Regions from separate parts of the Homo sapiens genome. Here regions 1, 2, 3, 4, 5 and 6 are each linked to region 7. Evidence: promoter capture Hi-C in human tissues and cell types (Jung and others, 2019). All regions are on one chromosome and are shown on one strand. The core of a region is centred on a gene start or on the middle of the fragment in contact, and the rest is flanking DNA. Distances in the headings are between cores, read along the strand shown.

The links. Contacts are between HindIII fragments. The study calls those that stand out against the background at their distance.
Region 1: a fragment that was not itself captured here is called in contact with the fragment with the promoter of DSEL in region 7 in 3 of the 25 tissues and cell types used here (heart right ventricle, mesenchymal stem cells and mesendoderm cells).
Region 2: a contact is called between a fragment that was not itself captured here and the fragment with the promoter of DSEL in region 7, in 4 of the 25 tissues and cell types used here (H1 embryonic stem cells, lymphoblastoid cells, mesenchymal stem cells and 1 more).
Region 3: a fragment that was not itself captured here is called in contact with the fragment with the promoter of DSEL in region 7 in 1 of the 25 tissues and cell types used here (mesenchymal stem cells).
Region 4: a contact is called between a fragment that was not itself captured here and the fragment with the promoter of DSEL in region 7, in 1 of the 25 tissues and cell types used here (hippocampus).
Region 5: a fragment that was not itself captured here is called in contact with the fragment with the promoter of DSEL in region 7 in 1 of the 25 tissues and cell types used here (dorsolateral prefrontal cortex).
Region 6: a fragment that was not itself captured here is called in contact with the fragment with the promoter of DSEL in region 7 in 2 of the 25 tissues and cell types used here (IMR-90 fibroblasts and lymphoblastoid cells).

What each region holds. Positions count from the first base shown.
Region 1 is chr18:68,359,952-68,363,564 of GRCh38, forward strand. No RefSeq gene overlaps it. Among named protein-coding and RNA genes, the nearest start is that of LINC01912, 97 kb to the left of the region's middle. The HindIII fragment of the contact is 4,045 bases long and covers 121-3,613 here.
Region 2 is chr18:68,276,290-68,280,182 of GRCh38, forward strand. No RefSeq gene overlaps it. Among named protein-coding and RNA genes, the nearest start is that of LINC01912, 13 kb to the left of the region's middle. The HindIII fragment of the contact is 3,395 bases long and covers 1-3,214 here.
Region 3 is chr18:68,493,403-68,497,338 of GRCh38, forward strand. No RefSeq gene overlaps it. Among named protein-coding and RNA genes, the nearest start is that of TMX3, 220 kb to the right of the region's middle. The HindIII fragment of the contact is 3,382 bases long and covers 865-3,936 here.
Region 4 is chr18:68,425,793-68,429,557 of GRCh38, forward strand. No RefSeq gene overlaps it. Among named protein-coding and RNA genes, the nearest start is that of LINC01912, 160 kb to the left of the region's middle. The HindIII fragment of the contact is 4,712 bases long and covers 28-3,765 here.
Region 5 is chr18:68,465,832-68,469,813 of GRCh38, forward strand. No RefSeq gene overlaps it. Among named protein-coding and RNA genes, the nearest start is that of LINC01912, 200 kb to the left of the region's middle. The HindIII fragment of the contact is 3,476 bases long and covers 616-3,982 here.
Region 6 is chr18:68,449,815-68,453,633 of GRCh38, forward strand. No RefSeq gene overlaps it. Among named protein-coding and RNA genes, the nearest start is that of LINC01912, 190 kb to the left of the region's middle. The HindIII fragment of the contact is 8,525 bases long and covers 1-3,819 here.
Region 7 is chr18:67,514,312-67,517,994 of GRCh38, forward strand. DSEL (dermatan sulfate epimerase like) reads right to left here and starts at 2,409. Exons shown (of 2, transcript NM_032160.3): 1 at 2,050-2,409; 2 at 1-1,181. The coding sequence starts at 297. It overlaps DSEL-AS1 (DSEL antisense RNA 1), which reads left to right and starts at 2,235. Exons shown (of 5, transcript NR_033921.1): 1 at 2,235-2,438. The HindIII fragment of the contact is 11,831 bases long and covers 1-3,683 here.

The DNA.
Region 1 (3,613 bases), core at 893-3,392, 850 kb after region 7:
TAAGAAGGCATGGGAATGTAAACTTTTGCCTAGTTTAGAGAGTTAAAGGACTGTTTAAAATTAAATAAGATAAAGCTAAAGGTTTCAACAAGTTGTAGAAGGTTTGTAAAAAACTTGTAAAAGAAATTCTGGGTGTGAGCACATTAACTGAATTCAAATGGTTATTATGTGGTTTTTCTGTAAATTGAACATTGGAATAAAAGCACAATAAGGTTTTTTTAAGGAATTAGTCTGCTCTGTAACAAAATTTGTGAAGTTTTATAAGAATCTCACCTCATGGTCAAACTGGTTAAGATTGGATAGAATTGCCTATTTTAAAAATCCTATTTTTAAAAATTGGATTGCTATTAATGGTGGACTAACGCAAGGGTGAAATTTGGTTTCTCTCCCTTGAATAATTTTTTTATGTAATAATAAAGGCAAATGAAAGATTTTTGTTTTCTTTGTGAATAAACTACTGAAAAAAGAGACAGATTGTTAGGAAAGCTAAGTCTTCCCTCTTAATGAGTGAAGATTTTTTGCCTTTTTAAAAAGTTTTGAGTCATCATTTTGGCTAAATAAATGATTTGCAGTAATCTGGAATTCTATTTCACAATATCAAGTGTTTTAAGCCTCTTAACAAATTTAACAGTCTTCCTAAAATAAAATTTCAGCTTCAAAAATTGTCTTTTCCGACCCCTAACTTTTGGATGCCACAAAGTGCCCTAGAGCATACAAAACAGAGGCAAACAGGATTATTTGACATGTTTAATTACATGGGATTGCCAAGATGAAAACAAGGTTTAATCTTTCTGAGTTCATATTTTAGTGAATAATATTAATATATGTACTAAAATTGTATGAGATTTCTAAAATTCTAATGTCTGAATATATGCTCTCAATCATAATTAAGGTTATTATGGTAAGTTATTGTAAACCACAGAAATAACCAAATCTTTTTGTCAATCATGTTTTTAACTGTAACTACCCTGGACATTTTGTCATTCACACACAATTGTTGTCTTGCTTTGATCCTCATAGAAATGGTTTATAAACAGCTATAGGTCTTTGACAGGTACTCTCAAACACACGTTTCTGATAACTTTGGAGATTGTGACATTGGAATAGAGGAAAAACGTACAGGACAAATGAAGAGCTAAAATGTTCATGAATATCAAGCAGAACAAGAGATAACAGAATGGACTGAACTTACAGAAAACTAAAGTAATCCTTTTTAACTTTTTGCTTTAAACATTGTTGATCCTTTGTTTTTCAACGTGAGGAAAACCTTTATATTGAGTTCATTACAGCTTTTAACAATTGAGTAAGGTATACTTCTGTGAACAAGATTTGGAGCATATTTGTTTCTCTCTGCCTGGTTTCTCCAAAATTTGGAAGCTATATGTGAGTATTCTTAAATTATGGCAATATAATTATTTGCATACTTGCAATAAGAATCTATTTTTATTTATTTATTTATTTTTTTGCAGCAGCAAGATACAATTGAAGAAACTAGTGGTTTTACCAAAGCTTTCACTGGAATGCTGGAAGGGTGTGCTTCCCTTTCAGGAACCAAGCTTCACTTCTCAAGCCAATAAAAGCCCCTTGGGAAAACTGGCATCATACCTTGTCTACACAGTCCCTGTACAGATTTCCTAACAGGTGATAAGTAAAGATTGTAACTTTCTCACGGGCCCAGGTGCCCCAAGTTCTCTTGGATCCTCAAGAAAAAAGAAATGTATCCAACTCATAGGTATTTGAGGGTACAAACCCATGGCCGGGCTGGGCTTTAAAAAATTTTATCTGAGATTCCAGTGGTGTTCCAGCAAAGCCAATTTTTTAAAAGCCTGTGTGAAAATAATGATTCTTGATGCTCTTTATGCAAATAATCAGGTCAAGGATAAGACTAAAGTTTATTTTGCAAACAACTCAGACCTATTATGATTTGTCTTTAAGAAAAATGAATACTGGAGAGAGAAAAATTACATTTCAAAATTTATCATAAATGTGTCATTAAAATCTAGTCTCATTAGCATTTTTTAAGCTTTTGTCTGCATTTTAGACTGAACTTGCTTATACCTGTGAACCAACCAGGGATTTCTGGCTGCAGCTCAGAAGGAACAAAAGGGATGTCTAATGTAAAAATCTGGATTAATATTCTAATTCTGGGCAATTATCTTGCAAATTCTGCCAGGTGATGAGGGTAAACCCATAACCTGGAGATTACTATGTTTGGGAAAATAAGACCAAACAAGCTGACCAAAGCAAAGCTCCAGGCACCCAAGTCTTAGCAGGTAACTGGGCATGCTGGCATCCTCAGGATTTTTGAACTGTCCTTACCCCTTGTTCCATGTCAATCCATGTTTTTTAATTACTCAGTTTGTCTCTTCTAGCCTTCAGTCCATCAAATTCAAATGGTCATGCAACCAGAACATTGGATGATCGCTCTCTTCTACCAAGGACCCTTAGATAGGCCTCCAAGGGAGATCTGACTGCTGTCTTCCCAAAACAGTGTACCCTGTCAGCAAAAAGTAGTTAAGATCGGTCATGATCCTTATCCCAATGGCAGTTAGATGTACCACTTCATAGGAAGGAATTGATAGCAGCAGGAGCCAGGCAAATGCCTAGGCAGATAGGGTCAGGTCCCACGTGAAACCCCAACTTCAAGCAGAAGGCAGTTTAAAGCCTGGCTAAAAGTCCCAGGTAAATCCACAGACCAGTGGAGATTGTCTTCCCATTTGGTGTACTTTCCTCTGATCCCTACTCTTCACCTATTTTACATATTCCTACCCTTTCCTAGTTGGTTTTCTACACTGCTGTGCCCACCTTTGAGTGATGCCTTTGCTTTAGCCTTTCTTTGCATACTCACCACCAATCAGCACACACCCCCCTATTCTAAGCCCTTAAAAGCCCTGAACTCAGCCATGCTGGGAGAGAAACCACCTGATGGTGGGAGTGGAGAACCACCTCCTGCATCCCCTCTCCACTGAGAACTGTTCTATTGCTCAATAAAATTCTTCTCCGCCCATCCTCATCCTTCAATTGTCAGTGTATCCTCATTCTTCTTGGATGCAGGACAGGAGTCTGGGAACCACTGAACGTGGGTACAAGCTGTAGCACAGGCAGGTCAAGTGGGTGGGGCACCTCCAGTGGCAGCCCAGGGCCAAGTGAGGCTGAACTCAGCTACAAGCTGTAGCACAGGCAGGTCGAGTGGGTGGGGCACCTCCAGTGGCCAAACGAGGCCCAGGAGGGACAATGTTGCTGGTCTTTGAGGTCCTGTGTTCGCAAAATGACCTAGAAAAATCCTGTGTCAATATTAGGTTATAGAAATATTATATTAGTTTATGAACTATTTTTCTGCTTCTGCCATTGTAATAAATAGTCCATGAGGGCAGTGATCCTGTGTCTTTTGTTCACCATTGTATATTTTGCTGCCTAATCCAGTGTCTGGTACGTGGTGCTTAAAATATTGGCTGAATGAGTGGATAATGAATTTAATGTATATTTTACAGCTTCTGTCTAATAAGCTTTGTGACCATTCCAATATGTGTAAGGGAAAATTATAGAAAATTAAAATATGATTTCCATTTTTGAGCAATTCTGGGCAAATGGATAGAGGAAAGTACCATTTACT
Region 2 (3,893 bases), core at 267-2,766, 760 kb after region 7:
TCTAGGATGTTAATACTTGGAAGATAGAGATAGTGGTTCCTGCTACCACGAAGTGCAGGTTTGCTGAGAACCAATGGAAGATAGAGCCAGTGTCTTCCTCTAGAGCAAAGTTCATGCTGACTGTCCATCATAAAAGTCTTGGGCTCTTTACACTCAGGATTCTTCTGCAATGTAATCCATTATATTTGCAGGTTTCAAAGGCCATCTTTGTTTTTTAATTTAAATTCAATTTTTTTCATTGTTTTGAGATAGGATCTCATTCTGTCACCCAGGCTGAAGTGCAGCAGTGTGATCATGGCTCACTGCAATCTCCACCCACCGGGTTCAAGTGATCCTTCCACCTCAACCTCCCAAGTAGCTGGGAGAACAGGTGCACATTACCACGCCCAGATATTTTTTTTCTTATTTTTTATTTTGTAGAGATGAGGTTGTTAGCCAACCTGATTTGAACTCATGGGCTCAAGCAATCCTCCTGACTTGGCCTCTTGAAGTGCTAGGATTACTGGCATGAGCCCACCATGCCTAGCTAACAGGCCCTCTTGTCACACTGTGGTAATTAGAACTTAGGAAAACAGCCCCCAAAATGCTGATACCTTGGTTATTGTTATTCCTGTGAATAATAAAGTCATTTGTGTGTGGTCAAGAGTCTCATGTCTTCTGTCAGCCTCCATAAAATTGTGGCAGGCTAATTTGTTTTCTTGAAATTAAGGTTCATTCTCAGATTCACAATAGTTCTTCAGACATAAATCATGCTTTCTATTTAATCTGATTCAAACATAAATCATGCTTTCTATTTAAATTTCTTTTCAGTTTTATAGGGAAGATGACATTAAAACTCTTAATCCATTATTTTTCAAATACCATTTAAATCAGTACATTTAGAGCTACCCATTACTATTTTGTTTATGTCATGTATTTTTTCCTGCAACAAATAAAACACTTCATGAAAATGTCCAGGTAAATGACTTGACACTGGAGGAAGGGCTATGTAAAATACATTTTAGAAACATGAAGAATGTAGCATAAAGAACCTAGAAAATCTATTCTTAGAAGGGTTGCATGCAACTGTAAGCCTTCCTATTGCTACATATCAATATATTTTGCAGTATTCTAAATAAATTAATTTATTCAAACAGAAAATGTGTCTGTCTTTGGGAAGGAAAATTGAATATGTTCATTCACCTATCATATATTCATCACTTAGCTAAATACACAAAAACGTGATCCTTGTTTAAAAAGAACTTGTGCTCAACACACAAGCTTTTACATATTTTCTTATTCAAAAACAGATGAAACTAACTCATGGTGCTAGAATTAAAGACAGTAGTTGCCTTTGGGTGGAGTTGTAAACGGAAGCTGGCATGAGGCAAGCTTCTACAGTGCTGCTAATGTCTTATTTCTCATCCCAAGTGCTGGTTGCATGGATTAAAGCTACGCACTTAGTAGTTTTTGTTTTTGTCTTATTCTGTCTGCAAGGTATACTTCAATAACAAAGTTACTTTAAAAATGTGGCAATTGTCTCCTTTTCCTGCTGTGTGGAGATGCTCTGCACCACGTGCTTCTCCACCCAATTTATCACGTGTTCTTGTTCCTTTCAACACATCATGTTCTGCACAGATATATGATAGTCCAGGCGATTCTTTACTTCCTTATATACTCTATACAGTCGTTCCCGGTAAGTAACTTCCAAAGCCATAGCAATGTTATTCCTTTGCACATCAAAAAGGTAATGGCGCTTCTGAACCAGTGCCTGTTGTGACTTCTCCATATCAATTGCATTCTGGATTTGTTGGATGGAAGCCTGCTTCGCCTCTTCTAGTTGGGCAAGGTTTTGCTCATTGAGTTTATCAGCAAAGTCTGCAACAAAGGGACCATATTTTTTAATTCCATAGACCATTACACCTAGTACTGATAGGGCAGTGAAGGTCTCTGCGCTAATCACATATATTCCTTTGCGGACCTAAAGCTGCTGGCAAAGAAGGCTCAAGCACAGCCAATTATGTAAATGTATCTATCCCAATTGAGACAGCTAGAAACAGTTGACTGACTAAATGGAAACTAGTCTATTTGACAACGTCTTTCTGTGTTGGTGTCTACTGAAGTTATAGTTTACCCTTCCTAAAAATGAAAAGTTTGTTTCATATAGTGAGAGAACGAAATCTCTATCGGCCAGTCAGATGTTTCTCATCCTTCTTGCTCTGCCTTTGAGTTGTTCCATGATCACTTCTGAATAAGCAGTTTGCCTTTATAAAAACTTGCTGCCTGACTAAAGATTAACAGGTTATAGTTTAAATTTGTAATTAATTCTACCGTCTTGCAATAAAGTGACAACTGAATGAAAAAAAAATGTGGCATTATGAGGGTGCAGAAAAGGGATGTTTGACCTAGAGGGCAAAAAATCTTCTTAAAGAAAGCAATGCCTGAAGAGTCATAAAGAGTGGAGTTAACATAGTATTAATAGAATTGGAACATTAGGAGGTTCATTTGAGGACAGGGGACTACATGAAGATGTGGAAGGAAAGAGAAGCTGAAATGGTGTTGAAAAAATCATGCAAGAAATAGCTTGAAAAGATGGCATTGGAGACAGTATAGGGAAAGATTATAAGGACCTTTTTTATACTGTCAAGGAACTTAGGTTTTATAAGCCAATAAAGAGGAAAAGTCTTAATATTTTGAATTGATACATCCTTGTAGTACCCTATTGAGGATTGATTTAAGGGCATCAAAGTGGAAAATACTCAGCTCCAGTACCAGAGAGTCAAGGCTGTGGATTTGAGATCTGCTTAGGGTGCAAATGGAAAGATCGGATAGGTACCTGTTCCCCTGTGTCTATGTGCAAGGTGTGTCTAGAGAGGTGTTCTTTTTCATCAAATTCTATAGGGTTATTAAAGAATAAAACTCATGGCCTCTCAGCTCCAAATTAAGGCTTTGTCAAAAATCTCCCCATTTCTTGGGTGTCTTGCATTCTGTTTCTTGGGTGTGCTGGGTTCTTAAGCTTTGATATGTTGGAGGAAGGGGGAGGAAGAGGAAACAAAGGCTCAGTCAGGGTTTTGCTAGTATCTTTATTTAAATCTGCAAATAAAAAAAAATTACCCAAGACAAGATACTAGTAAACTCTATCCAGTGGGGAACCGCCAATGGCACTGTTATAATACTCGAGTTCACATTTGTCTTCAACTTTCCCTTAAGGGCCAGGTGGAGAGGCTCTCTAATTTTAGGTCCATTCACTGGTAAGCATTCCGACATTTTTTTTTTCAATTGGTATCCAAGGTTTTCATTAATTATGCAGTACAAATCCTTTTAATATTGCACATTTTCATTGTCCTAGGGTTATGATAACAAAACAATACCCTTGAAGGTTGAAAATATATTTCATTCAGCCCAGTTGATTTTTGCATACTGATTACTTTATATCCCAGCAGTTAATCTTCAAGCTTGGTGTCATTTCAGTTTCTTAATTTATACTTATCTCAGACCCCAGACACAGAAAACATGCAAATGGAAAAAGAAATGTGAAGTCTGACAATGAGTTTAATTTCTACGGCTCACTTTTCCATCCATTGCAATCATTAAATTGTGAATGTTCCTTTGACATTGAGCTCTTCCACTTACATTTGTCTAACGACTATGCTAAAATCAAAATGAAAATGCTTTTTCTATTAAAGAGTTCACAACATGTAGCATATGAAATATATAACATATAACACAATTCAGTATAATTATGCACTAAAATATGTGTATATGTACCTGGGTGTGTGTGTTTATATATATATATGTGTATATATATATATACACATATATATGTATATATATGTGTATATATATATATACACATATATATGTATATATGTGTATATATATATATACACATATATATGTATATATATACACAT
Region 3 (3,936 bases), core at 1,306-3,805, 980 kb after region 7:
TGTGTAATAAATCTATCAATGTATCTCATTGAATTGCCAATAATGAAAATATCACTGCAGGGCGTGGTGGCTCATGCCTGTAATTCCAGCATTTTGGAAGGCCAAGGCAGGTGGATCATGAGGTCAAGAGATTGAGACGATCGTGACCAACGTGGTGAAATCCTGTCTCTACTAAAAACACAAAAATTAGCTGGGCATGGTAGTGCGCATCTATAGTCCCAGCTACTGGGAGGCTGAGGCAGAAGAATCGCTTGAACCCAGGAGGCGGAGGTTGCAGTGAGCAGAGATTGTGTCATTGCACTCCAGCCTGGTTACAGAGTGAGGCTCCATCAAGAAAAGAAAAGAAAAGAAAAGAGAAGAAAAGAGAGAAAGAGAAGAAAAGAAAGAAAGAGAAGGAAAGGAAGGAAGGGAAGGAAGGGAAGGAATGGAGGGAGGGAGGGAAGGAGGGAAGGAAGGAATCACTATTCTCCAATGCTGTACAAAGTATGGAGAAATAGAAAGTAGCACAATTTGCTGGTGGAGGTAAACTTGCTACAACATTTTTAGTATCTTTTAAAAGCAATGATGTTTATGTCTATCAATGCAAAAATATAACTGTACTGAATCTCTCTTACGGAAATAAAATGCACTTACAGATGAATCTAATAAGGTATATATATGTACTATATATACACAAATACATATATACACATATAAAACACATACATAAAATTATTTGCTGTTCCACATATATGTGCATGCATATATATTATACATACACACAGAGACAGATGGGAATTTTTTACATGCATAATCATATATTATACTACATATACAATATATTTGTTAATATATATCATATGTACATACAAAGATTTTTATTCACATTTTATAGAGAAGGCAATATGTACAGAAAAAAGTAGAATACTGTGTCAGAATTTATCCTATTTTGTTATTAATAAAATGTAGGCAGTGTATGATGGCTCACACCTGTAATCCCAGCACTTTGGGAGAGTGAGGCAGGCAGATTGCTTGAGCTCAGGAGTTTGAGACCATCCTGGGCAACATGGTGAAACCCTGTCTCTACTAAAATACTAAAAATTACCTAGGCGTGGTGGCCCACACCTGTAGTTCCAGCTACTCGGGAGGCTGAGGCACGAGAATCTCTTGAGCCCCATAGATGGAGGTTACAGTGAGCCGAGATCGCACCACTGCAATTCAGCCTAGGCTACAGATTGAGACTCCATCTCAAAAAAAAAAAAAAAAAAATTAAATAAATAATTTATAATATATATATGTGCATAGCAGCACACGTGTGTCTGTGTGTGTGCACGTATATATAAATATATATGCAGAGGGCTACACATCAAAGGGTTACTACCAGAGAAGCAGGACTGAAAGAAAGAATGGAAGGCCTCCCAAAAGCCATTCCTCACTCCCCCACCCTCCATTTCCCTTCCTTCCAATGTACTGGCTGCAAAATCAAAAGTAACTTACCAAGCCTGGCCTGCAGTTGGCTATGTCCACGTAATCAAGTTCTAGTCAATGAGGCAAAGGGAAAGTCAGCTAGAGGAATTCCAAGAAATCTTTTGGCTTCAGGATGAAAGAGACAGAAACAGCTGGCTCTGCTTTTCCTCCTCCTTTTCTGCCCTACACTGAAATATGATTCTTGGAACTTCAGCAATTACATCATAGCCATAAAAAATGCCTAAGGAATCACCTCTGCACTACAGCTATGATCAAGGCTGCCCACTGCTTACCAGAAGGCTTCTGGGTATAGGAGGAAAATAAATTCCTATTGGTCACTATTAGTAGAAGTCTTAGTTCATTTTGTGCTACTCTAACAGAACATCTGAGACTGGGAAATTTTTAAAGAACAGAAATTTATTCTCTCACTCTTCTGGAAGCTGGGAAGCCAAGATCAAGCTCCCAGCATCTGGTGTGGATCTCCTCACTGCATTCTCACATGACAGAAGGTGTGAGGGCAAGGAAAAGATGAACATTGTGTCCTCACATGTTAGAGAAGCAAAAGAGAGGGCAAACATACTCCTACCAGCCATCTTCCTAGCACTATTAATACATTCATGAGAGCACAGCCCTCACGACTTAAACACCTCCCCAAACACCCCACTTTCCAACACAGTTGCATTGGGGATTAAGTTTGCAACACGTGAATTTTGGAAAGAAAGACATTCAAATCTTTGCAGTAGGTTTTTCTATTATTGGCATTTCCAAGCATGCCTAATGATTTAAAAAGGGACATTTTTCTTCATTGCTTAAGTTGCTAAAATAAACATGTATTATTATTTTATTTTAAAAAAATGATTTTTAAGGAGAAAAATAAAGATAAAAGAAAATAGCGGCAATTAGAGCAAAAAAGAAACTTTTAGAAAGATATAGTTATCTTGTGTCATTGTGCTCTAAAAATTGTACTTATTTTAACAAAAACATATTCACTCACTAGTTTGTGTGCCCTTTGTTAAGTAACCCTGAGAAGCATTTAAGATACACTTTCCTTATCCCACAATCAAGCTTTGAGTCCTTTGCTAAATCACCAAAAGAGATACCAAGGTTAGTGTTAATAAAAAATAGGTATTTATTGTCAAGTGTATATGAAAATGCTCTACTGTAATTATTCTTTCATCTACACTGAAAGTCTTTTAAAAATGTAAATATAAGAGCTATTCAAGAAACTTCATCTATACAGAATTAGAAAACTTCTTTATCCAAACCCAATGGAACATACTCTACAGAAAAAAATTGTTTTTCTGGTTTGAATTTGCGGCAATGGCAAATCAAATACTAGCTTATCACAATAATGGCTTAAAATGTAAAGATAAGTAACCAGTAAGGATAACATTTCAGTGCCTGTATAACAAATTAAAAATAGAATATTCCAAGAAAATATAGCATTATAAAGAAGACCAGGGTGGGAAGGTGTGGGAGGGATAAGGGAATGGTTTATGTAGGGAAAGCTTAAATACAGGCAACACCTAAACCAAAGAATGGCAGAGATAAGGCAACAAAGAAGTTTTGATGCTGTTTGCAAAGATGCTCAGGGTATGTGGCAAAGCACAAAATAAATAGCACACGTATGAAGTCTGTTTTGTGTTGATATTAGCAAGGAAACTACTTTTATTAGTAAGGAGAACTATATGCCTACCATGTTTTATGTGTCTTACTTGTTATGTGTAATAACTATTAGCTTAGGATTGGGATGATTTTCCTCCCTCCTGTACAGGGTTTTTCAATTTCATTTCTCTCTTTTTTTTTTTTTTTTCTTGTTGTTGTTGTTGAGATGGAATCTCGCTCTGTTGCCCAGGCTGGAATGTAGCGATGCAATCTTGGCTCACTGCAACCTTCACCTTCTGGGTTCAAGTGATTCTCATGCCTCAGCCTCCCAAGTGCTGGGACTACAAGCATACACAACCACGCCTAGCTAATTTTTTTATTTATTTTTTATTTTTGTAAGTTTAGTAGAGACGGGGTTTCACCACATTGGCCGGACTGGTCATGAACTCCTGACCTCGAGTGATCCATAGGCCTTGGTCTCCCAAAGTGCTGGGATTACAGGTGTGAGCCACTGCTCATGACCTTAACAATGCTTTTAACATAAATTTCACTGTATATTACTTAGAGAGCAGCCCTATCAGCAAAAATTGTGAAACATTAGGGGTAAAAAAGATACTGTGTGCCTTGTCTAGCATACTTGATGCTATAGGGACCCACTCCTTTAACTGTCTTTGAGCTACTTAACTAACCTGTAATTTGTGGAAAACTATTAATTACGCAAACTTGCCCTTATAATGCAAATAAATTTTGTCCGACAAAATGCTGTTCATTATCACTCTGTGGATATTGAACAGGGTTGCATCTATTTGTAAATTCATTTTAGCTTTTTTTTTCCTCCCAGTATATGAGTGAATTGAATTGTCATTTGAACTTATTACAACATCT
Region 4 (3,765 bases), core at 1,134-3,633, 910 kb after region 7:
CCCAGCACTTTCGGAGGCCGAGGTGGGTAGATCACTTGAGGCCAGGACTTCAAGACCAGCCTAGCCAACATGGTGAAACCCTGCCACTACCAAAATAATAATAAATAATAATAATAATAATAATAATAATAATACAAAAATTAGCCAGGCTTGGTGATTTGTGTCTGTAATCCCAGCTACTTGGGAGGCTGAGGTGGGAGAATTGCTTGAGCCCAGGAGGTGGAGGTTGTAGTAAGTAGAGATTGCTCTACTGCAGTCCAGCCTGAGAAGCAGAGTGAGACACTGTCTCAAAATAATAATAATAATAAATAAACTGAACTGAGATTCTAAAGCCTACCAATTGGCCAAGATGTCACGTCGGAGACAGTCAATATCTGTCCCCCACCTCAACTGATGTAGGTCCCTCTTAGGGGTCCCAACAATAATAGATAGCCATTTTTCCCCAGGGATATCATGTGCACCCCCAAGAATATTTACTGTGTGGAAGCCAGTTACTACCTTTCCTCCCTCCCAAAAACATGTGACTTGCACTCTAAGGGTAGCAATAAAGATCTTCAAGTGTTTAAGAAAACACGACCAATAGATCATGTACATCTAATATGATTGTGCAGATCTCAAAAATGAGACTAACTTTGCATACGCATGGAGGATATTTAGATGTTTCACTTACTTGTATATGACTATAATTTGTGCTTACACTGTGAGAACTTATTCTTACATGGGAGTCCTCTAATTAAAAAGAGTATGAATACAGGTATTTCTGACATTATCTAACGTAATGAATTACGCCACCTTGACAATGGAAGGCTACCAGACTATCCTCAAGTCACAGGTCAGGGAGGTTATGGATGGTAGAATTGTCTTATGCAATCTCTAATACTTCCTACCGCACCTGGTTTATATTTCAGGCCAAGTAGAATTATTAATATGAAAGTTTAAGGAGAAATATCAATAGAGAAATTTTAGGAGAAAACTACCGGCATTTCTAGGATAGACTCCAATGAGATTTCTGCAGTTGAGCCTCTGGGATCCTACAGGAATAGCAGCGGTCAATACTGCCAGATGGCTTCATCCTGATATCTGGGATTGTGTTGATAGTGGTCGTAGTCTTAAGTAAAAGCTGTTTGAGTTGAATTGAACAGATGTGGTTTCAGTTTTTGTTGGTCATATTCATCTGAGTGACTAATATAATAGCATACATATGAGAAAATTCTTCAGAAACCAGGAGAATGTCGAGAAAATTGTTGTCAGATAATTCTCTGTAGATCTCTCTCATTTCTGCATATCTTGAATGCACAGGTACTAATTGACCTTTGTTCTGGAGCAAAGAGCAGCCATGTATGCTGTTTAGAATAATGAATAAGTTGTCTGTCTGTGGCAAAGATCAGGCCTGCTGACTCCCGGTTTTGAAAGACTTGGGTTCCATAAGCTCAGGAATCCTCTCCTGTAGAATGTGTTCAAGCATTTATCTGGGCACTTCTTGGAAACAAAGGAAACTGGCAAATATGCAGATGCTCATGCTTCTTGCTTTGTTGTGAGTAATAAATTACTTTTTACTTTAATACAATGCATATTAATTAAATTTTAGGTCTTTAATAAACAAAAAATAGTTTTGCATTATATAGAAAACTGAGGAGCATTTGATAAACATTTAAATCATTTCCCAAGTTTATATCATTTTACTCAAAAATTCAAATTTATTCAGAAAAAAATGAAGCCTCTAATATTAATATTTAGAAGAACTAGGAACACCCTTGAGCTAGATTGCTCTGGGATCTCATCACAGAAGAGGCATGAGGTTAGCCAGGGATTGGAGGTTGACTATGACTTTGCCAACACGCCTAATGGTGTAAGGTAAAGATAAGTGAGAAGATAATATGATCAAAGTTATAGAAACGGAAATATGGAAAGGAAAAAATGAGACATTTACTCACTGAAAAGAACATTAATTAGGGTAAGCAAAAGAAAAACAGTAAGAATCCGGTATTTTTGTATGGCATAAACTTGAATATTCAGAGAAAATTATGATCTCAAAATGTTAGAACAATTTTCTTATTTGTATTTATTGAATTCTATTACTTCTCTGGGACTAGAACAGTTACATCAGATTGACACTCACAGATTTACAAAAGTGCATTGTTTTTCACACAAGCGTTTTTCAGGATAGGAGCAGGGATAGTTAGTTTCCAATGAATCTGAAACCAGTTTATGAATATGGAACATTTGGGTTAACAATTTGCATTGTGTCAAAGATACTCATCTCACAGTTAGCACTGTTTTTTCAAGTAACTCAAAACACTAAGTGGAGAGAACAAACAGACGTTTGAATATCTTGGTGTTTTTACATAAAAGCTACACATTATTTCCAATCTGAAGGCTTCATTTTCATGTTCATTTGTGGAAGCTGTAGTTATAAATTTAACAGGTGGTGCATTCCCTCGTGCCAGAACAGGGCAGATGGATCCCTCCTCACTGTTGCTGGTCATTAATGGTAAGCAGCTGCCCCACCAGAAAAGTGAGACAGCAGATGAGTCACAACCTCATGTTAATTCATTTCTGCAGTGACTCAACCACTTCATTTTAATGGGCTTGTTCAAACATTTTCTTTCTTCCATTGTACATCACAACTTTAGTAATTAAAAATTGATTTCTACATACCACACATGCGCATGTATGCTGTGTGTATATGTATGTATGTTTTACTTTTCTCCTTAAAATATAATTCTCCCTTATAAATAGGAGGCTGTCATCATCCGATGGTGGGTTATAAGGCATACCAGCGATGCTGGTTTCCCAAAAATATTGTTCTTTATTAGCACATTTTAGTTCTGACAATTCACATTGTATATTTGTTCTGTTAGTGTAAGACATTTGGCCTTAAGTGCCTTTTTCAAATGCAAATTATCCTTATAGCAACACTAAACCATTAGCAGTTATTAATAATTTATCTTGGACATGTTTATTTTATGAGGAAGACTGCAAGTGAATTTTGACATCCATAGTAAGAGCAGCAAATTTCACAGTTTAAGAATAATTTATGCTGGATACGATGGCTCATGCCTGTAATTCAGCACTTAGGGAGGCCAAGGCGGGTGGATCACTTAAGCCCAGGAGTTTGAGGTTAAAGTGAGCTATAATCACACCACTGCACTCCAGCCAGATTGACAGAGCAAGGCCCTGTCTCAAAAAAATAAAGAATAATTTACCATATCTGACTGTGACCAGTAATTTCTTGGGAAGCTTGTGAAAAAGAAGTTTTCAGGCTTTAATTCCAGAAACTCTCTTATTTAGTAAATGTGGATAGGGCATCACAATCTATTTGTACAAGTCCGTTCTCACGCTGCTATGAAGAAACACTGGAGACTGGGTAATTTACAAAGAAAAGAGGTTTTTAATTGGCTCATAGTTCCACATTGCTGGGGAAGCCTCAGGAAACTTAGAGTCATGGTGGAAGACACCTCCTCACAGGGCAGCAGGAGAGAGAATGAGTGCCAGCAGGGAAAGTGACAGATGCTTATAAAATCATCAGATCTTGTGAGACTCACCATCACAAGAATAGCATGACGGAAATGCGCCCATGATTCAATCACTTCTCACAGCGTCCCTCCCGTGACACTTGGGGGTTATAAGAACTACAATTCAAGATGAGATTTGGGTGGGGACCCAGCCAAACCATATCACTACTTTTACTAAGAAGATCAGGTGATGTTGCTGTGTCAGTAAATCAATATTTGTGAAAATTGGCAGAGCATCATCTACTAATAA
Region 5 (3,982 bases), core at 1,104-3,603, 950 kb after region 7:
CAGGCTGGAGTGCAATGGCGCTGTCTCAGCTCACTGCAATCTCTGCCTCCCGAGTTCAAGCGATTCTCCTGCCTCAGCCTCCCCAGTACCTGGGATTACAGGCATGCGCCACCATGTAATTTTCTATTTTTAGTAGAGACGGAGTTTCTCCATGTTGGTCAGGCTGGTCTCGAACTCCCAGCCTCAGGTAATCCACCCACCTCGGCCTCCCAAAGTGCTGGGATTACAGGTGTGAGCCACTGTGCCAGGCCCTAAGTCCACTTTTTAATTTACCCCTGTGTCTACTCTATCGTTAAGGCCATGCAATAAAATTTTTATTTCAGATGTTGTGATGCTCAGCTCTAGAAATTGCATTTGGTCCCTTTTTATATCTTCCCTTTATCTCCTCATTATGTTCAAGTTTTTCATTACATTTATAAATATATCCATAAGAATGTTTTAACATGACTGTATATTAATTTCATCTCCTCTGTCATTTCTAGGTATTTTTTTTTTTTTTTTTTGTGATGGAGTCTCACTCTGTTGCCCAGGCTGGAGTGCAGTGGTGCCATCTTGGCTCACTGCAACCTCCTCCTCCCAGGTTTAAGTGATTCTCCTGTCTCAGCCTCCTGAGTAGCTGGGACTACTCGGGAGTGTGCCACCATGCCCACTAATTTTTTGTATTTTTAGTAGAGAATTTCAGGTATTTTTCTATTAACTGATTTTATTTCTCATTAGAAATAATATTTTCCTGTTTCTGTGCATATTTAGTAACATTTGATTGCGTACTGAACACTCTGAATATCATGTTAAGATTCTGGAGTTTGTTATCCTCCTTAAGAAATTTTTGAGTTTTGTTTTGGCAGTCAGCTAAATAGTATGTAGATTAGCTGATCCTTTTGTGTCTTGTTTTAAGCATTTTATGTTGGATCTAGAGTAAGCCTAGCTCTGGGCTAGATTAGCTGTACTATGAAGGCATGATCCCCATTAATGCTCCCATATATTCAACATGGTCTCCCTGGCTTGACTCATCAGAACTCACGCATTTCCAATTTTGCATGAGCTAGGGGAATTGTTGAGTTCATAGGCAACTTATGGGGTTTCACCTTACATGTGGTACAGCTGAGTACTCAGCCAAACACTCAGGGAACAGCATGAAGACTTCTGGACTGCTCTCTCTGCATAGTTTTCTTTTCCAGGATGACTTTCTTCACCTCCCACTGTTCTCATTTCTGTTATGTTAGTTGACTGAGAATATTGTTTTCTGAATAGTCCCCTATCCCTACACTACAATCCAGAAAGTGACTCCAGATCGAAAACTGAAGTAATTATAGGGTTAATCTAATTTATTTCCTTTTTATCAGAGACTACAGTCTTGTGCTCCCTTTTGTACAATGTTTGAAAATAGTTATTTCCTATATATTTTTCCCCTGATCTAGTTGTTTATGGCAGGTTCCCTTTACACTCTCTTGTTCAGAAGTAGATGTTTAGTATTCCCCTACTAATATGATTTAAATACACCACAATATTATTTGAGGAAGGTGATAATTATTCTTGATTTCCGTAAATTACAAACAATGATTGTGATATCCCCCAGGATTGCAGTGTATAGTGTCTGTTTAATAAGTAGAAAATGTCACCAATGATGAAGTGGGCAACACTTAGGGCAGCATGTTTTGTTCTTGCTGTAGTTGTATTACTCTCTGCTACACTCTGAGCAAGTCATTAAAATTCTGTATTTTAGTCTACATGTCACATTTACTGATCTATTGACAGGGCCTACATTAGTGCGTGTCACCCAGCAAATAATAAAATACATGTTAGATTAAAAAAATTCTGCAGAGATTCTTGAGTCTTTACTTCATAATGGTGATAATTCACTTTGATTTTATATGAGATAGAAATTTGATTCTGTTCAACGACTCGCATTGAATGTGATGGATCTCAAAGTCTTCTGACTAGATTCTAATTTCCTATATTTACTACAGGTTTAATCCTACCCTATTAATGTTATCAATATGACAATTAGACTGTGCTAAAGATGTCTTTCAGAGTGAGTCTTAGCCTCACAGCCCCATGAGCAAACACCATGTAACCCTACAACCTGGATCTAGTGGTGAACATCTGTTAAACTAGTCTTGTTCTCTCTCCTGGAAATTGAGAATTGATACTTAGAAAGTCAAGTTAATGAGCTATTGATGCAGGACAATGGCCCATAAAGATATTTGCCATTGATTCTGAGAAGTGAACCTCATTCATGCTGAAGTAGATGAATTAACACATGGAGGGTGGGGCAAAATAGAAACGCATTGAGAGCAGACATGCAGTGGTGAGGAAAATGAAAGCACACCTTCCTATCTGATGGCTTAAGCAGTTTCGAGTGCCAGTCTCTCTCAAAGCACGGCTGTACTTCCTGTCTGTGAGTTCTGTGAAATCTCCTGATTCTTTATAATGGATGCCCTTTCTCAATATGGCTCAATTAGATTTATTTTTATTGTAATGAAATCATATTAAGACAAAGCCCGAGAATATGTAGTTCAGAGTTGGTGGAGGGGAAAGAAACCAAATATTGGAATGAACTGTAAATAAAGATTTAGGAATTCTTCATCAAGCTTACTAGTTCTTAGCTTTTAGTTCATAGGTTTCATTCAGAATCTTTTCAAAGCTATGAACCTTTTATCCAGACAGTTCATATTCATACAAATTTTTTCATACAATTTGACACCATGAATGTCATTCAAAGACTCTTTTAAAAAGAATATAGGTGAGTCATGTTAAAACTATGAATGAAGTTACAATTTATGTTAAAAAATACATGTTTTCAGACATAAAACAATTTCAAAAACATGAAGTATTAATTGGCTTTTGAATTAAAAACAGATCTTATCATCCAGATGAGTAGTGTTGTATTTTACTAAAACTTTTCTTCCATGAAGTTAAGACTACAACATTCTGGGCCCCATTTAAAACATTAATTAATAGAAATTAAATCATGTCTCTATGGATTATTCATCTGGTTTGAAGATTTCACAAATAAAAATTTTTCCTTTCAGTATTAAGAACAAAAAATCAGGCAACCTATGCTAAGTATATTAAATCCCACTTGTATCCCTTTTCCTTTGTTAGCTTAGATACAAAGTTAAAATGTCATAATACAATATATTTTTGGTTTAAATAGAGGTTCCTATAGAACTGGCAGGCTTTTTTGAAAAATCTGAAATATTTTATTCACAGGTATTCTATCAAAGTCTGCTAAAAAAAAAAAAAAAAAGAGCATCCATATAGCATGGTTTCAGGGACACCAAAGAGGCTGACTGCCCAAGAATATCTCTCCTGATGGTCTGTCATTTCATTGTCTATGGTTCATTCTTTGTAAGCAGTCACTCTGCAGGAATCCACTTTTAAAATGCCATTACTGTCGGTTTAGAAGTACAGAGAAAAGGTAGTTATGCATAATTGTCTTCCAAATTTGTATTCTGTTAAAAGTGATTTTTTTTTTTTGGTCCCTTAAGAAAGCAGCATGTCAATAGCCATTGATTGACAGTCAGTGCTGCCTCTTGGATTCAAAAAGGCAGAAAATTCCCCATGGAGGTCATGAACAAAAACGTCCTGAGCTATGGAAGCAAAGGGAACAGGGCTTTCTATAGGATATGTTAATAATGCAAAGATAAAGCAGGTAAGACAGGAGAGCAATGTCTAAGAGCAACAGGGAAGGAAACAGCTGTGGGACCAGAGAAGAAACTATTGTAGTAACAACTTCTTGTTCACTTTAATGAGAATTAACTGAAGAATCAGCATGGGCCAGAACTGACTCCTCCTCTGAAGAAAAAGAAAAAGAAAAAGAGAAAGAATGAAAGAAAGAAGAAAGAAGAAAGAAAGAAAGAAAGAAAGAAAGAAAGAAAGAAAGAAAGAAAGAAAGAAAGAAAGAAAAGAGAAGAGAGGAGAAGAGAGGAGAAGAGAAGAGAAGAGAAGAGAAGAGAAGAGAAGAGAAGAGAAGAGAAGA
Region 6 (3,819 bases), core at 316-2,815, 930 kb after region 7:
AACCTTTTCTGGGGAAGGTGAAGTTTCATGGAGTCAAGGCAGTAGAGTCAGTATCCTCAGGGGCATCTTATTCCAGTTTAAAGGATTCCAGATTTTTCCTACTAGAGGCCTGAACTTTTAACATCAGACTTATGTTGCTTTCTTATTTAAAAATGTTTTGTGCTATACGGTTCTCATAATTAGGCCTTCAGCCTTCCATTTAACTCTGTCTCCATCTTCAGCTACAGCTAATAAGGGCCTCTTTCTATGCTAGCACAGAGGCTCTCTAGCTCTCAGCCTTAGCCATTGAGCACTTGTTAACAGGCTCTTAGTCTCTCATTATCCTTCTGCAAGGTATCAGTACAACTTGTTCACCAGCCAATTTCTCTATCAGTATATGTCTGTATAAGCACTGCTTCCCCATATTTTTCAAATGTCTGTGTCATACCTGCCATAGCATCTGCCTACATCAAGACATTTTCTTAGAACACCTCCAGTGATATCATTAGCAATTGAGCTGCCGACTTGTGCCAAAAACAATATGTGCCCCACCTAGCAACCAAGACAGTGCCTTATTTCCCTACTATGTAATATAAGAGCCAGATCCAAATCTAATTTTACCTCATATTTTGCTAAACGACTTCTAGTACCCTCACATTCATCTAGGTCCACTGAGAAACCAATGCCAAGAAAAGACTAAATATACAATGATTTTATTAAGGAAAATGTCTTTGTATGATCAAATAGAGAAGGCACTGGCTAAGGCTAGGAAACCTGTCAGATCGTGACCCAAGTCTAAACCTGAGAGAACAAGAATGGAAAAGAAGTTGGGTGTTGAGTATTCCAGGCTGCTGTGAAGTGTAGTGTACAGACAGTTCAAAACCACCAGGGAATTCTTGCAGCACAGTTGACCATTGGAGAATGCACTTGTCTACCAGGAACAGGTCTGCCTTCTGTAAATACATAGTGCACAGTCACTGGCTGGAAGTAGCTCCTCGGAAGCATAACTTTGTCACAATGTGAGCTTAGATATTAGAAGCATGGCAATTGTTGTTCTTCATCATTTATGCTCCTTGTAATCAGAAGTTTATGCGGCACATTCTCATGTCCTCCACAATCAGGAACATCACCAGTTAGATAAATTATCTGAATAAGTAACTTCAGAAATTCCTTGAGGTACAGAACTTTGTAATACAAGTTGTATTAATGCATGATATGCTAATTAGCTAAGTCCATATGATATATTTGAATAAATAAATGAGTTTGGCCAAGTTAAATCATATATGTTCAAAAGAAGAACCCATTGTCCCTCTTTTCTTTTTTTATTACCATCAACCAAATTAAAGTTTTTAATTCCACGCTCAGGGTACTGACTGAAGCAACAAAGTTTCACCCCTTCAATCCCATGTGTCATGTGAAGTGCCAACAAAATAATCTTTAAAATTAATTGACACGTCACCCTTGTATGAGAAGCATCTTCTGTGTCATGCTAAAAAATATAATCTAAACATGCTACCCCACCCTTTGTAACCTTTATCTCACCCTCTATTCTTTTGAGTCTTGTCATCAATTTCTGACCTTTAGAGAAAATTATATTTCTTGACATTCTCAGCCCTTTCCCTTTTTCATTTCTAGACTATAGTTGATGCTGTTTAGTCCTTCGAAATGTTATCTCTTCATCATTACTTACTAAAATTTTACCCAGCCTATAAATCCCACTAAGAGCAATGGCCATGAGGATTTCTCTGATCTCCTCAGATAAAAAAAAAAATCTTGATATCCCCAAACTTGTGGAAATTTAATATTCTCCTTGTATATTTTAAATGCAGCCCTGTATTGTAGTTGTTTATTTATAAATTGTATAGCCCCCACCTAGATTGCAACCCACAGTTTACAGCAATGATCATAGACTTCAACACAATGACTTGCCCATGTAGGGGCTCATAAATGTTGGTTAAGTTACCTATATAAGAATATATTTGTCTGGTTTTATGTTAGCTATCCAAAATATGTCCTTGCCATTATTTTCTTAAATTCCCGCCCCCTCCATCAATATACAACAACAAAATAAAACAAAATGAAATTATGCTAATTTAACTTTATAAAATCATATTTTAAAAACCTGGTCTTTAAAGCATTAGAAACATTTTATGTAAAATAAAAGCCACCTCTTTTCTTTCCAATCAAATACATATATTTAAAATCAAGAGATACAAGGCAAAATTTTTATTACTTTTGGCATAATTTTTATTCAAAATAGAATTTCCCTCCTCTACAATGTTTCCTTCATTTTCTTTAAATTCTGAACAGTGTATAACAGAAGTATTCTTAAATGAAACACTTATGTTCTCCCTTTAAATTAAATCTATGCCATTTTTTGTTGTGCTACTGTATAGTATTATGTAGACACTGAAAAGCTGTAAATACCCTTTGAACCATAGAAGTAGAATACACCTCGTATCTCTCCAGCACAGAGGTCTGTGTTGAACAAGAATGACAATTTTAGTTTATAATGAAGAGGGAAAAACAATCATTTTCAAAGCATAAACATTCTTAGCTTAAAACATGAATAAAATAAAAAATCTGAAATTCAAACTTCTTCATAAAAAGCTTCTCTGGCAAAGAGAGAGAAGTTTTATTATTTTCTTTGTATTCCATCAATGAAAAGCCTGAAATTGAAAACAAATCTATAGATTCCAACTTTTGATTTAACATAGTAATTGCTTATTGTCTTTTACTACTTCTTAACTCTTTTTTTTGGTTTACATTGACAAAAAAAAATTGCAGTAGACTTTCTGTTTTTCACAACTCTTAAGAATTTGAATTCTTGACAAATATAAGTATGTCCCATTATAAACTGGCTTCAAATGAAGATTAATCAGTTGAATTGTGTTTCCCCAAAATTCATGTTGAAGTTCTAATCCCCAGAACCTTAGAATGTGACCTTGTTTGGAAATAGTGCGATTGTATAAGAGATGTAGTTAAAATAAGGTCATACTATGGAAGAGTAGACTACAAATCCGATATGAGGGATAGCCTCATAAACAAAGAAATTTGGATAAAGACACACACTCAAGAAACACACTGTGAAAATTGGAGTTATGTTGCCATAAGCCAAGGAATGCCACAGAATGCCAGCCAACTATCATAAGCTAGTAGAGTGGCATGAAAGCAATCCTTCCCTAGTGACTTCAGAGGAAGCAGGGCCCTGCTAACACTTTGATTTTTAATTTCTCTCTTCTAGAATTGTAGGACAAACATTCCGCTATTTAAGATACTCTGTTTTTGGCTTTTTTTTATGGCAACCATAGGAAGTTAATACAAGGACCTAATGTGAAGTTAACATTTTAAACCTGTTTTACAGTATAAACATAGTCTCAGGAATAATGTCAAATTATAAGCAAAATTCCTTTAAAATACTAGAAACTGGCCGGGTATGGTGGCTCACGCCTGTAATCCCACCACTTTGGGAGGCGGAGGCAGGCGGATCAGGAGGTCAGGAGATTGAGACCATCCTGGCTAACACAGTGAAGCCCCGTCTCTACTAAAAGTACAAAAAATTAGCTGTGCGTGGTGGCGGGCGCCTGTAGTCCCAGCTACTCGGCAGGCTGAGGCAAGAGAATGGCGTGAACCCGGGAGGCGGAGCTTGCAGTGAGCCGAGATCGCGCCATTGCACTCCAGCCTGGGCGACAGAGCAAGACTCCATCTCAAAAAATAATAAAATAAAATTAAAATAAAATTAAAATAAAATAAAATAAAATAAAATAAAATAAAATAATAAAATAAAATAAAAAATAAAATAAAATAAAATAAAATAAATAAAATAAAATAAAATAAAAT
Region 7 (3,683 bases), core at 1,159-3,658:
GGACAGCATAACTGTCACTGCACTTCTGATAGCTCTAAAAAGATGCAAATGGCTTGCACGAGACTTTTGTCTCATTGCTTGGATTTCTCCAGCATCAAAATATAAACTTGGATGAAGCATACTTTTCTTCAGCTTTTGGTTGGGTCTGAAATCTTGCACTTTCTGTGTTTTAAACTGATCTATATCATCTGTGAAAACTGCCCATTCGGAATAATTGCTCACAGATTCCTCAAAAGTAGAGAAAGCAAACATCAATAATGCTAAGAATAGTAAATGTCCTGTAAACATTAACGCCATGATCCATGGGGGAGCTCCTCCCTTAGGCATACATGTCAGATATGATGCTCAATGTGTTTCCCATCTGGTTAGTATAAAACATACAGTAAAGGCCTTGATAAGACAAAGACTGTAAATCTGATATGCTGTGAAATCCAGCTGACATTCAGTACATTTTAAGCAAGTGCAGTTGCCAAAAAGAGAAAACTTAAATTGTATATCTCTGTCCCTGGCACAGTTTTGCTTCCAGTAAAACTTTGAATAACGTTAAAATCTCTAATTTTTCCATAATACACAGGGAAGTGATACAGGTAAAAAACACTATGAATTTAGCATTTACCTCCTTTACTTAAATCTATTTAACACAAAGAGTTGGAACACACATTGTAAAAAAAGAGAAAAAGCACTCCAAAATTCAAATTAAGAGTCATTTCTAGCACAGAAAACCATCACTGGTGATAAGCTCACCACACATGTATGATGCATTTGTGTATGTTTGCCCAAAGAAGATGATGAAGTACTGACATTCTTCGAGTGAGTGGACTCAGTTGTCATTCCTCTCAACTTTTTATACTTCTTGTCTTGTGAATACGTTTTTCTTTCATTTATGAGAGAGAAACATCCTCAACAAGTGATCAAAGTCTTAGTTGGTTTTTAAAAATTCAAAATTCTTGCCTTCATTTCAAATATTTTTCAGGCTTACTTACTCATCAGCCTATTATGACAAAGAGAAATCATGTTCACATCTTCTTTTATCAGCTTCATGTGTACAAACATAAAAATGGAATATCTTCAGTCACCTAGATACTTCTCGTCCGATCATGAAGTAACCGCCAACGGGGAAAGAAAATTCCCCTTTCAGCAACAGTGAGGTCTCTCTTCTGCTCTTTTTTCATGACACTTTTCTGGGGATGGGGGACAAAATAAAAATTCTCTGAGGCTTCAGGTATGCTGAGAATGAATATAAACTGATGACTTAAACATTCTGCAATCACTTAATAGAAATTTTAGAATCACAGTAAAATCTCATATTATCTGCAACCTAAGCTAGGGCAAGTGATTTTTTTCTTATCCATTTACACGCACTTATTTGGAAACCAGTGACCGTCAGCAGAAGACAAGCAACTAACAATACAAAATATACAAGATAGAACTCTCCCGACAATATCTATAGTTTAACGCCACTAACGTGGCTTCAGTCACTTAAAAAATGTTTGTATTCAAATGCAGTTTACACAAAGATGAGTCCTGCTATCCTTGTTATTTCTTGTTCCCAAGGACCGAGGGACAAAAAACTGAAAGTTGAAAAGATCTTTTTTTTTTTTTTTTTTTTTAATTCCGGGGGAAGGTTTAGAGTTCATGGGATCAGAAGGTATCTTCCTAATGAGAACTACTCGGACCAGTCACTTTTCTCGGCGGGGTAACCGCGAATCGTGACCAGGCGCCAAGCCGAGGGGCGGGAGCTCCGCGCTCGGCGCTCACCTGTGGCCGAGTCCCTGTCCTCAGGTGGAGCCGCCAGAGGGAGCTCGGACCCCGGTGTCGAAAGACGCCTCTCCGTGCCCGTCCGCGGCTGGAAGAACCTAAGCAAGTTTCAGTCTTGGACAAGTCTCCCCTCTGTAGGAAACATTCAGGCTAGGAGTTTCCTGATCCGCCCCGCCTGTTGCATTTTTTCACTGGCGTCCTCCGACCCTGCCGCCCCCATTCTCCGCTCCCCGCTCTGGGGCTGAGTGAGGCAGGATGGCGAGAGACCCCTGAGCCACCAAGTCCGCTTACCTCAGGCAGATCCCGACGGGGGCTCGGCGCCGCACTGGGCCCCAAGGGAGACGGAGGTGGAGAGTTCCAGAAAACTGCTCTGCACGGCGGGCCAGGCTCCCGCGGGGCTCCGCAAGACCCCCGCGTCGTCTCCCGCGCTACGGCAGGCGCTGCCCCAGCTCGGTCTCCTCAGCCGCGCTCGGTCCCCGCGACCCGCACGGCCCGGACACGCCCGCCCTCAGGAAACGCCGGACGCTTGTGGGGGCAACCACGGACCGCAGGACAGAGACCCGCGGGCGGCGGGTTCTCTCGGTGGCGCCGTATCCAGAGCAGCGCCCGCGTGCCCAGGCGGTGATGTCGCCGCGGCCGAGGATCCTCTGTGCCAGCTCCGGCCGCGCAGCCCGGGGAGGGTGAGACGGCGACGCGGGCCGGCAAGCGGGGGCGGGGCGGAGGCAGGACGGGGCGGGGTTGAAGGCGGGGCTGAAGGCGGGGCCTCAGGGAAGGCGAGAGACAGCGACGCTGGCTGGCGGGCGTGGGGCGGGACGGAGACAGGACAGGGCGGGGTCAGAGGCGGGGCTTCGGGGAGGACGGGAGGAGCCGTGAGCAGGCCGGCGGCGGGCGGGGCGGGGCCGAAAGCAGGTGAGGCGGGGCCAAGCGCCCCGGGTTTCTAAGCGGAGGAAGCTCTAGGCGTTTGTGTTCTGGGCTTGCAGCGGTGGCCGCGCGCTCCCGGAGGAGTCGAGCTGGAGGAGGGGACAGTTTGGGAGTGCGAGAGTCTAAAGACGCTGCCAGGCTGGCGTTAAAACCTTTTGGTTATGGGAAGACGACAACTATATAATAGAGCCATAGTGGGGGCTGTGGGATTGACTCAAATGATGGGAGGAGCTGGAGTGGGAGGGGATAAGCCCTGGGACGACAGAAATCATCCTTTTGGAAAGAGCAAGGGCTGGGGAAGGAGGGAATGAGCACTCCCTTGGAACTGAGAGGCAGCCTGGCTGAGCTTGCTGTCCTTTGGAAAAGCAAAACCGAAATACCCAGATTAATATAGGAGGACAACTTCTGTAGCCCAGATGCTAACAAAGATCAAGGGAAAACAGAAAAGACTAATCAGCTTTACTGATGGAAAACAATTTCTCAGGCAGTATAAATAGGGGAAGCATGGGACAAACAAGTAGAAGGAGCCTCTTATTTAAAAATGGGACCTGGTATTCGGTAAAGACCTACATGCAGACAGGAGAAGGCAGTGTGCCCCGGCTACTACGACATGTGAGTGCAGTGCCAGGTCGTGGAAATCCTAGAGCAGGCTGGGACTCCTGTTGCACTCCACACATGGAGCTTCTCACAGATAGCTGAGATGACACTTTGGCATAAACCAACCCAAGCTCTGACCTCAAATGTAAAAAATAATAGCTTAGTAGTAATAAAAATACAGGGAAATATCAAGCTTCACAAATGAACAATTCCATTCTCAGTTGGGGATTAGTAACACATTCAGTCTCTTCATTTCCCATACTATTTTGGTAATATTTAATAAGATATATTTTAACATTTTAAAAATAAATGTCTTGCTTAGATCATTTGCTGCTGAAAATCAAACAGTAGACGACTGCTAGCAGAATAAATTTCAAATCATTTAACTTTGAGGTGAAATGTGGCCT